Linked DNA regions of Homo sapiens: region 2 is linked to region 1. The links are contacts of gene promoters, found by promoter capture Hi-C in blood cells and fetal thymus (Javierre and others, 2016). All regions are on one chromosome and are shown on one strand. Each heading gives the region's core, a stretch centred on a gene start or on the middle of the fragment in contact. The rest is flanking DNA. Distances are from core to core; before and after follow the strand shown.

What was found. The method cuts DNA at HindIII sites, captures the fragments that hold promoters and counts their contacts. A CHiCAGO score of 5 or more calls a contact.
Region 2: a fragment that was not itself captured here is called in contact with the fragment with the promoter of ADSL in region 1 in 1 of 17 cell types (activated CD4 T cells); the score reaches 5.4 in activated CD4 T cells.

What each region holds. Positions count from the first base shown.
Region 1 is chr22:40,342,826-40,349,532 of GRCh38, reverse strand. It overlaps ADSL (adenylosuccinate lyase), which reads right to left and starts at 3,033. Exons shown (of 13, transcript NM_000026.4): 1 at 2,822-3,033. The coding sequence starts at 2,974. RefSeq lists enhancers at 1,978-2,490, 2,491-3,004, 3,005-3,518 and silencers at 2,691-2,780, 5,161-5,333. The HindIII fragment of the contact is 11,540 bases long and covers 1-6,707 here.
Region 2 is chr22:40,069,275-40,075,981 of GRCh38, reverse strand. It overlaps a transcript of TNRC6B not described here. Among named protein-coding and RNA genes, the nearest start is that of TNRC6B-DT, 28 kb to the right of the region's middle. The HindIII fragment of the contact is 288 bases long and covers 2,246-2,533 here.

The DNA of each region.
Region 1 (6,707 bases), core at 1,784-4,283:
CATGGTGGCGTGCACCTGTAGTCCTAGCTACTCAGGAGGCTGAGGTTGGAGAATCGCTTGAACCCAGGAGGCAGAGCTTGCAGTGAGCCAAGATTGCGGCACTGCACTCCAGCCTGGGCAACAGAGTAAGCCTCTGTCTCCAAAAAAAAAAAAAAAAGAAAGCTCCAATAAATAAAACAACAACATAATCCTGCTCTTGACTGTTCCTTCTGCCTGAGACCTCTGCTTGGTTCACTCCCTCACACATTCTGCTCTCTGGAATCAAATGTCATCTTCTCAAAGAGGTCTTCCCTGACTTCAATGTAAAACACACTCTGTGTCACTTGGTTTTATTTACAGCACTTATCACCACATGACATTTTTACATATTTATTAACCTGTCATTTCCCTCTAGAATGAATACTTCTTGAGGAGCTTTGTTTTATTTATTGCTTAATCCTTAGTGCTTGGCATGATGGTGGCCATTTTACTTAGATGGATTTACAGAAACCAAATTTAGAAATTCTGTAAGTAGTTTTGCCAGGAAATTATATACAGCAAATGAGTGCAACTGAAAGCAATTCCAGGAGATATTGATGAGAAAATAAACACATTGATGTCTTACATTCATCCATCACTGGAAAAATTAGGCTGCAAAAAATAGCTGGCAGCCCACAGGCAGCTCGGAACTTAGATCCAAGGGCTGAATACAAACAGTGGTGAAACTGATTTAAACCTCACTTGAAACTTGCAAACAGTGACTCCGGGAAGGATCTTGCATCTTAGATCTTTTTTATCCAAGAAAGGAGCTACTAGCCAGATATGGCTATTTAAATTTAAATTGATTAATTAAAAAGTATTGGAAAATATTTATAAGTAAAAAGTCAGGCCAGGTATGGTGGCTCACATCTTTGGGAGGCCAAGGTCGGTGGATCGCTTGAGTCCAGAAGTTCTAGACCGCACTGGAAAACACAGTGAGACCCATCTCTACAAAACAACACAAAAATTTGCCGGGCGTGGTGGCGTGCACCTCTAGTTCCAGCTTGGGAGGCTGAGGTGAGAGGACAGCTTGAGCCCAGGATGCAGAGGTTGTAACGAGCCAAGATTGTGCCACTGCACTCCAGCCTAGGCGACAGAGCCAGACCCAGTCTCAAAACCTAAATATATAAATAAAAGTAAAAAGTCAGTTTCTCAGTCACACTAGCTGCATTTCAAGTACTCGGCAGCCACATGTGGCAGAACTGCCTGGAACCTTTACAGTCACAGAAGACATGACACCTCTGGGCTCCTTCCAAAGCAAAGCAGCAGAGGGCAGCACGGCCATACTGCTTCCTCCCCTCAAGCAATTTATCTTTTCAAAATTCATACTTTCCTTACTACAAATTTTCTGCATTCCTCCTAATCTCTTATTCTCCAAGTTTTTTCTTAGCTACTAAGTTATTATGCAATTTATGGTAATTTTGACACCCTAACAGATAATCCAAAGCCAAAATTGTATGCATTTTAGGCCAACACAAAGAACACATACTCAGACTCTACATTCCAATTCCAGCTTGAAGCCATTTACTAGCTTTGGCGACCCTGGCAAAGTCTTGAGTACCACTACCCTCATCTACAGAATAGAATATCAGATGAAATAGAAAGAGTACACACTAGTACATCACAAACCACAACACATGATTAAGGTCTACTACTATCGCTATCTACGCCAAGAGTTTATTAAGTTGATGCTTCATTCTTCCATCTGTAAAACAGGTACAGTCATAGTATTTCATACCTACTCTTCAGGGTTGTTTGGAGGATTAATAAGCAACCATGTGTAAAGGGTTAAGACCTGGGTCTCAGAAGGCACTATCTGAATGTCTGCTATTATTGTAGTGTATCGCCCAATATTTTGGAGGGCAGTGATAAGGGGAGGGAGGGAATCTAGAATGAAAGTTTCCTGTTTGGAGAGTTCCATGGTACAGGTCCTAGGCCCGAAGTCAAATTGTTTCCATGTTTACTGTGCCGTTTGAGAGGGCATTGCCAACTTGCTCGTTGTGGCACTTTCCTCTGAAACTTGAGGAGAAACATTATCGCTCTCTGGATCACCTTCAGTTTGCTTCAACTCTTCTGGAGCTATTTCTGAAACCGCTGGGCTAAGAAGTTCTCTATGCAGCCCTTAGAAAAGAAATTATAAACCCCGTTTAATAAACCCCTACCCGGAGTCTTCTCCTAAGAGGCAAAGCGGAGGCCAGTGAGGCAGAAACGGTGGCCTAGAAAACAAGCATTCCAGTCCTGTCACTAACTACACAGGCACTGTGGAAAACCAAGGGGCTACGTGCTCAGCTCAGGCTCTGGAGTGCACCCAGGTTCAAATCCCAGTTCCGTTCTTAATAGCTGGATGGGCTAGGGCAAACAACAAGCTGTCCGGGCTTTGTTCTCCCCTGCAATGTGGGAAAAACACCATCAAGCCTGCAAGATCTTCATGGATTACACAAGAAAAGATTAGTGAAATAATGAGCACAACAGTACGAAACAAGCGCTCGGTGTCTGTGGTTAGCAGCGTACTCCTGCGGGGATGGCCAAAATGAATTCCCTGAAACTACAGGCTGAATTTCTCCCAGCCTCCTCCGCGTCTCGAACCCTCTCGGACTGAGAACACGTGAGGCAACAGGTGGCGGCTCCCGGATCTCCTGCCCTTGCTTTCCTGGGGCCGCAGCTCCTCAGGACAGGGAACACCCAGCTGAAAATAGCCGGGCCGCAGCTCCGGGGTGGCTAAGCCCAGCCCGGAACAGAGCCCGGCACGTGCTGGGGCGGGCCCGTCCCTCCCGGCCCAGCCCCTCAGCCCGGGATCCGTTACCTGCTCGGCCTCCGCCAGCCACAGCCACAGCTGCCGCCATGTCCGGAATTTATACCTGTCGCTAAACACGAAGCACATCTCCGGGCTGGCATAGCGGGAGGCAAGAGGTGAGCGGTAGCTGTCGGGCGAACCATGATCGCCTCCAGCCGCCATCCCAACCCTGCGACCCCGCCAGGGTGGACTGGACCAGGGAAGAGCGGAAGCGGAAACCTGGAGGCCAGGGCAGGACGGGGCGGGGCGGGACTTCCTTCACGCGGTCTCGCTCTCTGGGTTCCGGGCGCCCTGGGCGCTGCCGGCTGCGGAGAATCTCCGCTGCTTCTGCCTGAGAATTGACTTGGTTCGCTTCTTTGACCAGAAACATGATTGATGCTTCCTACGTTACTTAGCCGCGCTACACTTTAGTTTTCCTGTCTGAAAAGAGGTACATTAAGACTTCCTTGGCCGGGCGCGGTGGCTCACGCTTGTAATCCCAGCACTGTGGGGGCCCCAGACCGGAGGATCGCTTGAGGCCGACAGATCGAGACCAGCCTGGGCAACACAGGGAGACCCTCCCGTCTCTAAAAAACAAAAAGCAAAAAAAAAAAAAAAAAAAAAGGCCTGCCTTTCGGGTTGTGCGGATTCAGTGTTAGAGCGGTGTCTGGCACACTTGGAAGGCCGTGTGTACGCTTGCTGTTACTCTTATTACTGTCGCCCCACCCACTCCTGCCCGCGGCGCACCGAGCTCGGCTCTAAGGAGAAATGAAGATACCCAAGGGAAATCGGCATTTACTGCGCCCCCAGTGAGCCGGCTGCGGTGGCCTACGCCTGTAATCCCAGCACTTCGGGAGGTCGAGGCAGGCAGATTTCCTGAGCTTAGGAGTTTGAGACCAGCCTGGGCAACACGTGAAACCCTGTCTCTACTAAAATACAAAAAATTAGTCGGGCATGGCGGCCTGTACCTGTAGTCTCAGCTACTTGTGAGGCTGAGACAGGAGAATTTCTTGAACCCGGAAGGCGGAGGTTGCAGTGAGCCAAGATCGCGCCACTGCACTCCAGCCTGGGCGACAGAGCGAGACTCCGTCTCCAAAAAATAAAAGAATTAAATAAATAAATAGAAATAGAAACACTCAAGTGGCCCCCCCCCTTTTTTTTTTTTTTGACAGGGTCTTGCTATGTTGTTCAGTCTGGAGTGCCAGTGGGGTGATCACACAGGAAAGGGTTCATCTGGAGCTGTAAGAGCCAGGTGTCTCAGCTGGGCACGGTGACTCACGCCTATAATCTCAGCACTTTGGAGGCTGAGCTGGGCAGATCGCTTGAGTCCAGGAGTTGGAGACCAGCCTGAGCAACATGATGAAACACTGTCTCTACAAAAAATACAAAAATTAACTGGGTATGGTGGTGTGCACCTGTAGTCCCAGCTACTTGGGAGGCTGAGGTGGGAGAATCACTTGAGCCCAGGATGTTGAGGCTGCAGTAAGCCATGATTTTGCCACTACAGCTTAGGCAACAGTGAGACCCTGTCTCAAAAACAAAACAAACGAAAAGAGCCGGGTGCCTGCACCCTCTCCACCTGCACTTAACTCCTAGCTCTCTGCCTTTTACGTGAGGAATCTAAAGACACTCAAGCCAGGTGTGGTGGCTCACGCCTGTAATCCCAACACTTTGAGAGGCCGAGGCGGGAAGATCGCTTGAGCCCAGTACTATGCTGCTTTGAAATTACTTGTTTCTGAGTGCCTTACTAAAATGAGACCTGTGGAGGAATTCCAATTTTAACTCCCAGTTTATTTGCTGAGAGTTAACTTCACTTTTCCAATAACCATAATATTTCTAGACTATTACAAGTACATGATTAAGGGCCAGGCACGGTGGCTCACACCTGTAATCCCAGCATTTTGGGACGCTGAGGCAGGTGGATCACCTGAGGTCAGGAGTTGGAGACCAGCCTGGCCAACATGGTGAAACCCCATCTCTACTCAAAATACAAAAATTAGCCAGGTCGTGGTGGCAGGTGTCTGTAATCTCAGCTACTTAGGAGGCTGAGGCAGGAGAATCACTTGAACCCAGGAGGTGGAGGTTGCAGTGAGCCGAGATCGTGCCACTGCACTCCAGCCTGGGCAACAAAGTGTGACTCCAACTCAAGAAAAAAAAAAAAAAAGTACATGATTAGATCTCAAGGCTTCAAGATCTTTTCTTTGACAATAACTTCTTTTCCAGTCACCTTCCCATTCCTGCTTTCATTCACAGATTCACTCAAAAACCTATGGAGCACCCATGACAGTGTTCTCCCTCCACACCTCTGGGCTTTCTTAGATGCTGAGTGACCTCCCGGCTTCTTTTTTTTTTTTTTTTTTTTTTTTTTTTGAGACAGAGTCTCGCTCTGTCGCCCAGCCTGGAGTTCAGTGACATGATCTCGGCTCACTGCAAGCTCCCCGTCCCGGGTTCACGCCATTCTCCTGCCTCAGCCTCCCTAGTAGCTGGGACTGCAGGCGCCCACCACCACACCCGGCTAATTTTCTGTATTTTTTTTAGTAGAGATGGGGTTTCACCGTGTTGGCCAGGATGGTCTCGACCTTCTGATCTGCCCTTCTCGGCCTCCCTAAGTGCTGGGATTACAGGCATGAGCCACCGTGCCCGGCCTCTTTTTCTTTTATTTATTTATTTATTTTTTTTTAAGACAGAGTTTCACTCTTGTTGACCAGGCTGGAGTGCAATGGTGTGATCTCTGTTCACCGCAACCTCCACCTCCCGGGTTCAAGCGATTCTCCCTCCTCAGCCTCCTGAGTAGCTGGGATTACAGGCATGCGCCACCACACCTGGCTAATTTTGTTTTTTCGTTGTTTTTTTTTTTTTTTTTTTTTTAGAGACGGGGTTTCTCCATGTTGGTCAGGCTGGTCTTGAACTCCTGACCTCAGGTGATCCACCCACCTTGGCCTCCCAAAGTGCTGGGATTTCAGGCGTGAGCCACCACGCCCGGCTGGATGCTGAGACCTCCTGGCATCTCTTTCAAAACTCTTACCAGAATTCAGTGTTGCTTGCCTTGCTCATTGATGGCAAACTCAGTGGGGCAAGAGATCATGTCTGTGTTCCTGGCACTGAGCCCCAAACCTGGCATAGCATAGGTGCTCAGTAAATGTTTGCTGGATGCATAAATGCTGCCCCAAAGGAGCCTAGCCCAGTAAGAGAAATAACGCCCACAATAGCCATGATACAAGTTAGATTCTGCCACTATACTTCCTCTTCCTCCACACTTCCTCGGTGTCCTCATTCCCTGGCTTGTTCATGCCTCCACCTGAACTCCAGAGTTAGCTGTCAGAATTGACTAGAGTGCCAATTTCAGAATATTCAGGCCATCAGAGAAGCCTGTCAGTCACCTGGGCTCGTCACTGAAGTCTTCTTCCACCTCCCCTCTTGAACTGCAGAGGACTGGTTTTGGGGGTGAGGGCAGTCACAGTTCTGGAAAGATGAAGAATTTGCTCCATCAAACTCCCCACTCTTTGCAGAGTGCTTCCTGGCACTCATTGCTTTGATACACTGTGATAAATTTACTTTTCTCATTTTCTACCCATGCCTCTTGTAAAAGGTGGAAAGATTTATATAATCTGAAGAGAAACCAGAGCACGTACCCATGCCCATTGTAAACTCAGTGATCTCCTCAGTCTTCTAGGCCTCTGTTCTTCCTCTGCTTCACTTTGCTGTTACTTTTCCTCCTCCAAACAAGTTTCTACCTGAGTCTTCTTCCTCATTCAGGAAAAGATCTTGCTTGATCATTTTGTCTTATATCTTTCATCACCCCAGTTCTGTTTCCCTTCTCCTCTGATTTTTTATTTTTCAAGACCTTGTCTCAGGCTGTTTAGTTTTTTAGAAATGGGGTCTGTCACCCAGGCTAGAAGACAGTGGCATGATCATA
Region 2 (6,707 bases), core at 1,140-3,639, 270 kb after region 1:
TCATTAAAAGCAAAATTGGTAACAATGAATTGTGGGACATTTAACATGTCGAAGTAAAATGTATGACAATAGTCCAAAGATATAATGGGAAAATGAAAGTGCACTTTTTGAAGTTTTTACACTATAAATGAAGTGGCATATTATTTTAAGGCAGACTGCATAAGTTAAAGATGCATATTTTAAGCCATAAAGCAACTGTTATAAAAGTAAAACAAAGGTTTATAGCTAACAGAGGAGATGGAATAGTAAAAAAGTAATCAAAAAGAAGCCAGGAAAAGAGGAAAGAATAAACAGAAAACAGATGGGATAAATAGAAAACAAACAGCAAAATGATAAACTTAAACCCAACCATATTGAAAATGACATAAATGTAAGTGGTCTAAACACTTCAATTAAAAAACAAAGATGGTAAGATTGGACTTTAAAAATCCAACTATCTACTATCTAAAATAAATTCATTAAAAAAATAAAGACACGAATAAGTTAAAAGTAAAAGGAAACAAAAAGATATACAAATACATAAATAAGCTGGAGTGACCATATTAATATCACACAATATAGCCTTCAGGATAAGAAATATTACCAGGGATAAGGAAACGTTCTATAATTACAAAGGGCTAAATTCATTGAGAAGACATAAAAATCCTAAATGTGTATATACACATAGTTACAGAGGCTCAAGATGCATGAAGCAAAAATGAACAGAACTGAAAGGGGAAATAGACAAATCCACAATTATAGTTGGATATTTCAACACTTCTCAGAAACTACATTATATCAATGTAGAAAGAAAATCAGTAAGAAAAAAAAAAAAAAAAAAAAAAATATATATATATATATATATGAACAGAACCAACAATCAACTTGGCTAAATTGACATTAATAGCACACTACACCCAAGAATAGCAGAACATACATTTTTTTCAGGTACACATAGAACTATTCACAAAGAAGACCATACAAATCATGACAGATCTCAAAGGACTGAAATTGCATGTGTTTTATGGTAACAGTATTTTTCTTTGAGACAAGGTCTCGCTCTGTTGCCTACGCTGGAGTGCAGTGGTACAACCACGGCTCCCTGCAGCCTCCACCTTCCAGGCTCAAGCAATCCTCCCACCTAAGCCTCCCGAGTAGCTGGAAATACAGGCACACACCACCATGCCCAGCTAATTTTCTTTATTTTATTTTATTTTTTTTTTGGAGACGGAGTCTTGCTCTGTCACCCAGGCTGGAGTGCAGTGGCGTGATCTCGGCTCACTGCAAGCTCCACCTCCAGGGTTCACACCATTCTCCTGCCTCAGCCTCCCAGGTAGCTGGGACTATAGGCGCCCACCACCACGCCTGGCTAATTTTTTTGTATTTTTAGTAGAGACGGGGTTTTACCGTGTTAGCTAGGATGGTCTCGATCTCCTGACCTCATGATCCACCTGCCTTGGCCTCCCAAAGTGCAGGGATTACAGGCGTGAGCCACCGCGCCCAGCCATTTTCTTTATTTTTTATAGAGATAAAGTCTCATATGTTTCCCAGGCTGGTCTTGAATCCTGGACTCAAGCAATCCTCCTACCTCAGCCTCCCGAAAGTGCTGAGATTACAGTCATGAGCCACCATGCCTGGCCCACCATCTTGAAATGTACTAATTTCATACACTCTAAAGATAGTTTTTCCATATGTATACCTTTTATTTACTCTTAAATTATTAGCTTGAACTAGTTACCATTTTCTTTTCTTTTTTTTTTTTTTTTTGAGACAGAGCGACCTTCACTCTGTCACCGAGGCTGGAGAGCAGTGGTGTGATCTCAGCTCACTGCAGTCTCTGTCACACAGGTTCAAGCAATTCTCGTGCCTCAGCCTCCTGAGTAGCTGGGACTACAGGCACAGGCCATCACATCTGGCTTTTTTTTTTTTTTTTGAGATGGAGTTTCACTCTCATTGCCTAGGCTGGAGTGCAGTGGCACAATCTCCACTCACTACAACCTCCACCTCCCAGGTTCAAGCGATTCTCCTGCCTCAGCATCCAGAGTAGCTGGGACTACAGGCACACGCCACCATGCCCGACTAATTTTTTGTATTGTTTTTTGTTTTTAGTAGAGCTGGGGTTTCGCTATGTTGGCCAGGTTGGTCTCGAACTCCTGACATCAGGTGATCTGCCCACCTCGGCCTCCCAAAGTGCTGGGATTACAGGCATGAGCCACCGCACCCAGCCCTGGCTGCTAATTTTTGTATTTTTAGTAGAGATGAAGCTTCACCATGTTACCCAGACTGGTCTCGAACTCCTTGCCTTAAGAGATCCACCTGCCTCAGCCTCCCAACGTGCTGGAATTACAGCTGTGAGCCACTGTGCCTGCCCATATTAGTACCACTTAATGGTTTATTTCTACTAAGTTGATTTTATAGTTAAGTTTCCCTTCATTGACCAGTATTTTTTCCTTCAGTTAACAATTAGTGGCTCTTTGTAATGTCATAGTTCCCAGCACCCCCAAAACCCCAATAAAAGACACCACTAGATTCTTGTACTCTACCAGCCAAAGCTTGCCATAAGATCCTTAAAAATCTCTAATCCACCCCCAACAGTTTCCAGCCATATTAGAAAAGCTCCTGTTTAATGCAGAGTACTGAATCCTAAAAGGCTCCACAGGACTTGCTGTCCCTAAAGGAAGACAAAGAGTTCTTGACCTTCACTTAACAAAAAACGTGTTCTATATTACACTCTGCAAAAACAAGGACTCTGAGACTCTCAGCTAGGAAACAGGCACCCTGGAATCCCAATGACCATTTCTGCTGTCCCACATATATGGCTCTAAATATAAGGATTGGAAAAAAAAAAAAAAAAAAAAAAACCAAGGCCCTATGTATGTGTAGGGTGTGGGGCAGTAGGGGATAGGAGTCTGGGAGTGACTGCCTGTTAGGGACTTGACCAAACAACTTGAGACTGAATGTCCTTATGTAGAATACATGTCAGGCAATACTTATTACGTGTGCCCTCATTTGAAAGGAAATATCTTATAGCCTCATTATGACAAGCAAAAGTGATTTCTGATCTTTTGTTCTAGCTTATGTCCCAATGCTCTATACCTCCACTGTGAAGCCAGCTTTTTTTTTTTTTTTTTTTTTTTTTTTGAGAGAATCTCGCTCTGTTGCCCAGGCTGGAATGCAATGGCACAATCTTGGCTCACTGCAACCTCCGCCTCCCAGGTTCAAGTGATTCCCCTGCCTCCGCCTCCTGAGTATCTGGGATTTCAGGCACGTGCCACCATGCCCGGCTAATTTTTGTATTTTTAGTGGAGCTGGGGTTTCCCCATGTTGGCCAGGCTGGTCTCAAACTCCTGACCTCAGGTGATCTGCCCTCCTGGGCTTCCCAAAGTGCTGGGATTACAGGCCTCAGCCACCTTGCCAGGCCAAAGACAGTTCTTGACTAAGTTAGTGCTCAATAAAAGTTTGTTGAACTGAACAATAAAAGAATGTGGATTCCATATTAAGACAAAAGTTTACACTTTCCCAAAAAGGACATTCATGTTTAAATGCATCGTGATCTTCTTTATTATGGATTTAAGAACATAAATAATGTCAACAACATCCTTGGGAATAATTAGTAGGATGACATCTGCATCCCACTGCCCACATGCTTACCTTGAGAACAACTGACTTGGTGAATGAGCCAACACCCCGTTTCTTAAGTAAGCGCTCCGTTAGGGAAACCTCACTGTCAAATATATTATATGCTGTTTTTGACTCCTAAAAATTATTTTTCATTAAATAGATCAATAATTTATATTTCAATCTCTGTGTCTGAATAATACTCAGACACTTTCAATCTGTCACAATTAATATTCTTAAAAAATGTATCTTGTAATCCCAGTGCTTTGAGAGGCAGAGGTTGGATGATCGCTTGAGTCCAGGCATTCAAGACCAGTCTGGGAAACACAGTGAGACCCTGTCTCTACAAAAAGATTTTTAAAAATCAGTCAGGCGTAGTGATGTATGCCTGCAGTCTCAGCTTTCCAAAAGGCTGAGGTGGGAAGACTGAGCCTAGGTGTTTGAGGTTATAGTGAGCTATGATCGCGCCAATGTACTCCAGCATGGGCGATGGAGCAAGATCCGGTCTCGAAACAAACAAAAAGTATTTAATTAACAGTTCAAAACCATGCAATCTGAACAAATCGCTCTAGAAATAAAAGCTATAACTGCCAGTTAACACAGAAAAGGCCATCTCCATAATTTAACATACAATGAACACAAAATCAATCCAAGTGGGGTTATAATGCCTAATCAGAATTCCCCAAACTGTCCCCTGGAATGTCTGAGCTAAAGAAAAAAATTATTTTAAAAGGGTCCAAACCTTGTGGTCAGAAGCTGGAGGAGTGAGGGGCGCAGTAGGGCAAGAGAAAACTTCTGCTTTTCCTTTATACTTCTGTACCATTTGGAGTTTCATGTTATCATAAGTATATATTCCCTTATGGTAATACCAAAGTCCAAATGACACACAAGTATACGTTACTTTTTAAGCTTCCACATTCGCTGGTAATAGGAAAAGTCGGTCCAGAGAAAGCATGTTGCACCTTCTGAAACATTTCTATTTGAGATAGGATAGATATTACATGAGGTACTGTACATTTTAAATCTCTTTTACTTAGCATTTATTAACACGAGGTACCTCCGAAAGGAGAGAGGAGAAGAGGGGAACTATGAGATCCTTCATATAAAGCCAGCAAGGAGTAGGAAGTATCTAGTGGAGGTATCAGGGGACAGTGGCAACTGCCTAAGGTATTGAGCTTTGTGAAGAGGTGTCCTAATTTCTATTAACTGGCCTATAGAGAAAGAACAGATTTAATCTTACATCCTGTAGCAGAAAAAAAAAGGAAAGTGGGTTCCATTTTCAGAGAGTAACAAATGCTAGCAAACATTAGAGCTAAGAAAGTAAATAGTCTACAGTCCCTTACCCACAATTCCAAAATCCAAAAACTTCTGAAAACCAAAACTTTTCTGGAATTCATTGGTGGTGAAACCTGATGGGAATTTAATTGGTGGCAAGGTCTGACCTGAACTGACATGAAACTATTTATAGTCTACCCACTTTAGACTTTAGTCATAGCTTTGGCTGCTGAAATACTAATGTATTTGACTCTGAAGTGCTGCCTCTGACCCTGCAGGGGCATTGTATAACATATGGTAAGTGCATCTTATTAGTTTTCAAAAAAAAAAAAATCTGAGCTATAAAATACATCTGGCCCTTAAGAGTTTCTGATAAGGAATTGTGAACCTAAAAATGAGTTTTTATTAAAATGATCCTGTCAACCTTCCTGAAATATACCATTTTTTTCTTAAAATACCTGTAAATTAATTTGAACTAATTCTTTTCCTCAAACTTAAAATATTCTACTTTGAATATCTATAAAGATATAACTGTATTATTAGTTACAATATTTTATTCCACTTCAACATTAAGTCTTATTTTAACTTCTTTCTGAAGGAAACACTGAAATCAGCCTTTAGCAGATGGTATCAGAATGGAGTGAAGACAAAGTTAAAAAAGCAGATCTCTGTCAACGAGCTTCACCCTTTCTTTTTATGTTTAAAGAAAAACAGCATGAGATTTTCTGATGTATCAAAGAACATTAATTTCAAAAGTTAATAAATCCCAATTTAAGTCATTAAAAGAATCAAATCAAATAAAAAGTCACAAAATCCAAGAAGTTACTAAATCACAAAATAAAAGTCAAGTAATAGAACAGCTACAAGAAATGAAAATTATATACTTTAGCCCAGTTACTTATCGATTTTATTATACGAATAAATGACAAAGGCACACGGAACACGCAAAACTCAAATGTCTCTCTTAGAGAAAAAAACTATAAAGCCAGATTAAAGCAAGAACTAAGACATAAAACTAACAACCTATAATTAATTACAATGAAGGGTATTTTAGAAGATACGAAAAAATAGGCACAGAATGAACACTTTAATAAACATAAATACAACACTTGTACCTACATAAAACATAATTAGTTAAAATTTTTTCTTTTAATATACACCAATCCTCCCAACTCCCCACCTCCTACAACACAACTAACATGCCAGAAACACTCCAGCCAAATAGGAACCTCATTTCATAACTGATAGCCGTGAAAATCTCTTTTAATAAATGTGTGGTATAGAAAAGAACCCCTAATTATTTCTGTCTAAAAGAAGCTCTCGGCCGGGCGCAGTGCCTCAGGCCTGTAATCCCAGCACTTTTGGGAGGCCGAGGTGGGTGGATCACCTGAGGTTGGGAGTTCAAGACCAGCCTGACCAACATGGAGAAACCCCATCTCTACTAAAAATACAAAATTAGCCAGACATGGTGGCACATGCCTGTAATCCCAGATACTCTGGAGGCTGAGGCAGGAGAATCGCCTGAACCTAGGAGGCGGAGGTTGCGGTGAGCCGAGATCACGCCATTGCACTCCAGCTGGGGCAATGAGAGCGAAACTCCATCTCAAAAAAAAAAAAATTAAAAAAAAAAAGCTCTTACAAAGTTATACTCAAAGAAACTAAAGACTGAAAAATAACACAAAATATTCCTTAAAACAACTTTTAGGCCAGGTGCAGTAGTTCACACCTGTAATCCCAGCACTTTGGGAGGGTGAGGTAGGAGGATCCCTTGAGCCCAGGAGTTTGAGATCAGCCTGGACAACATAGGGAGACCCCAGCTCTACAAAAAAAAAAAA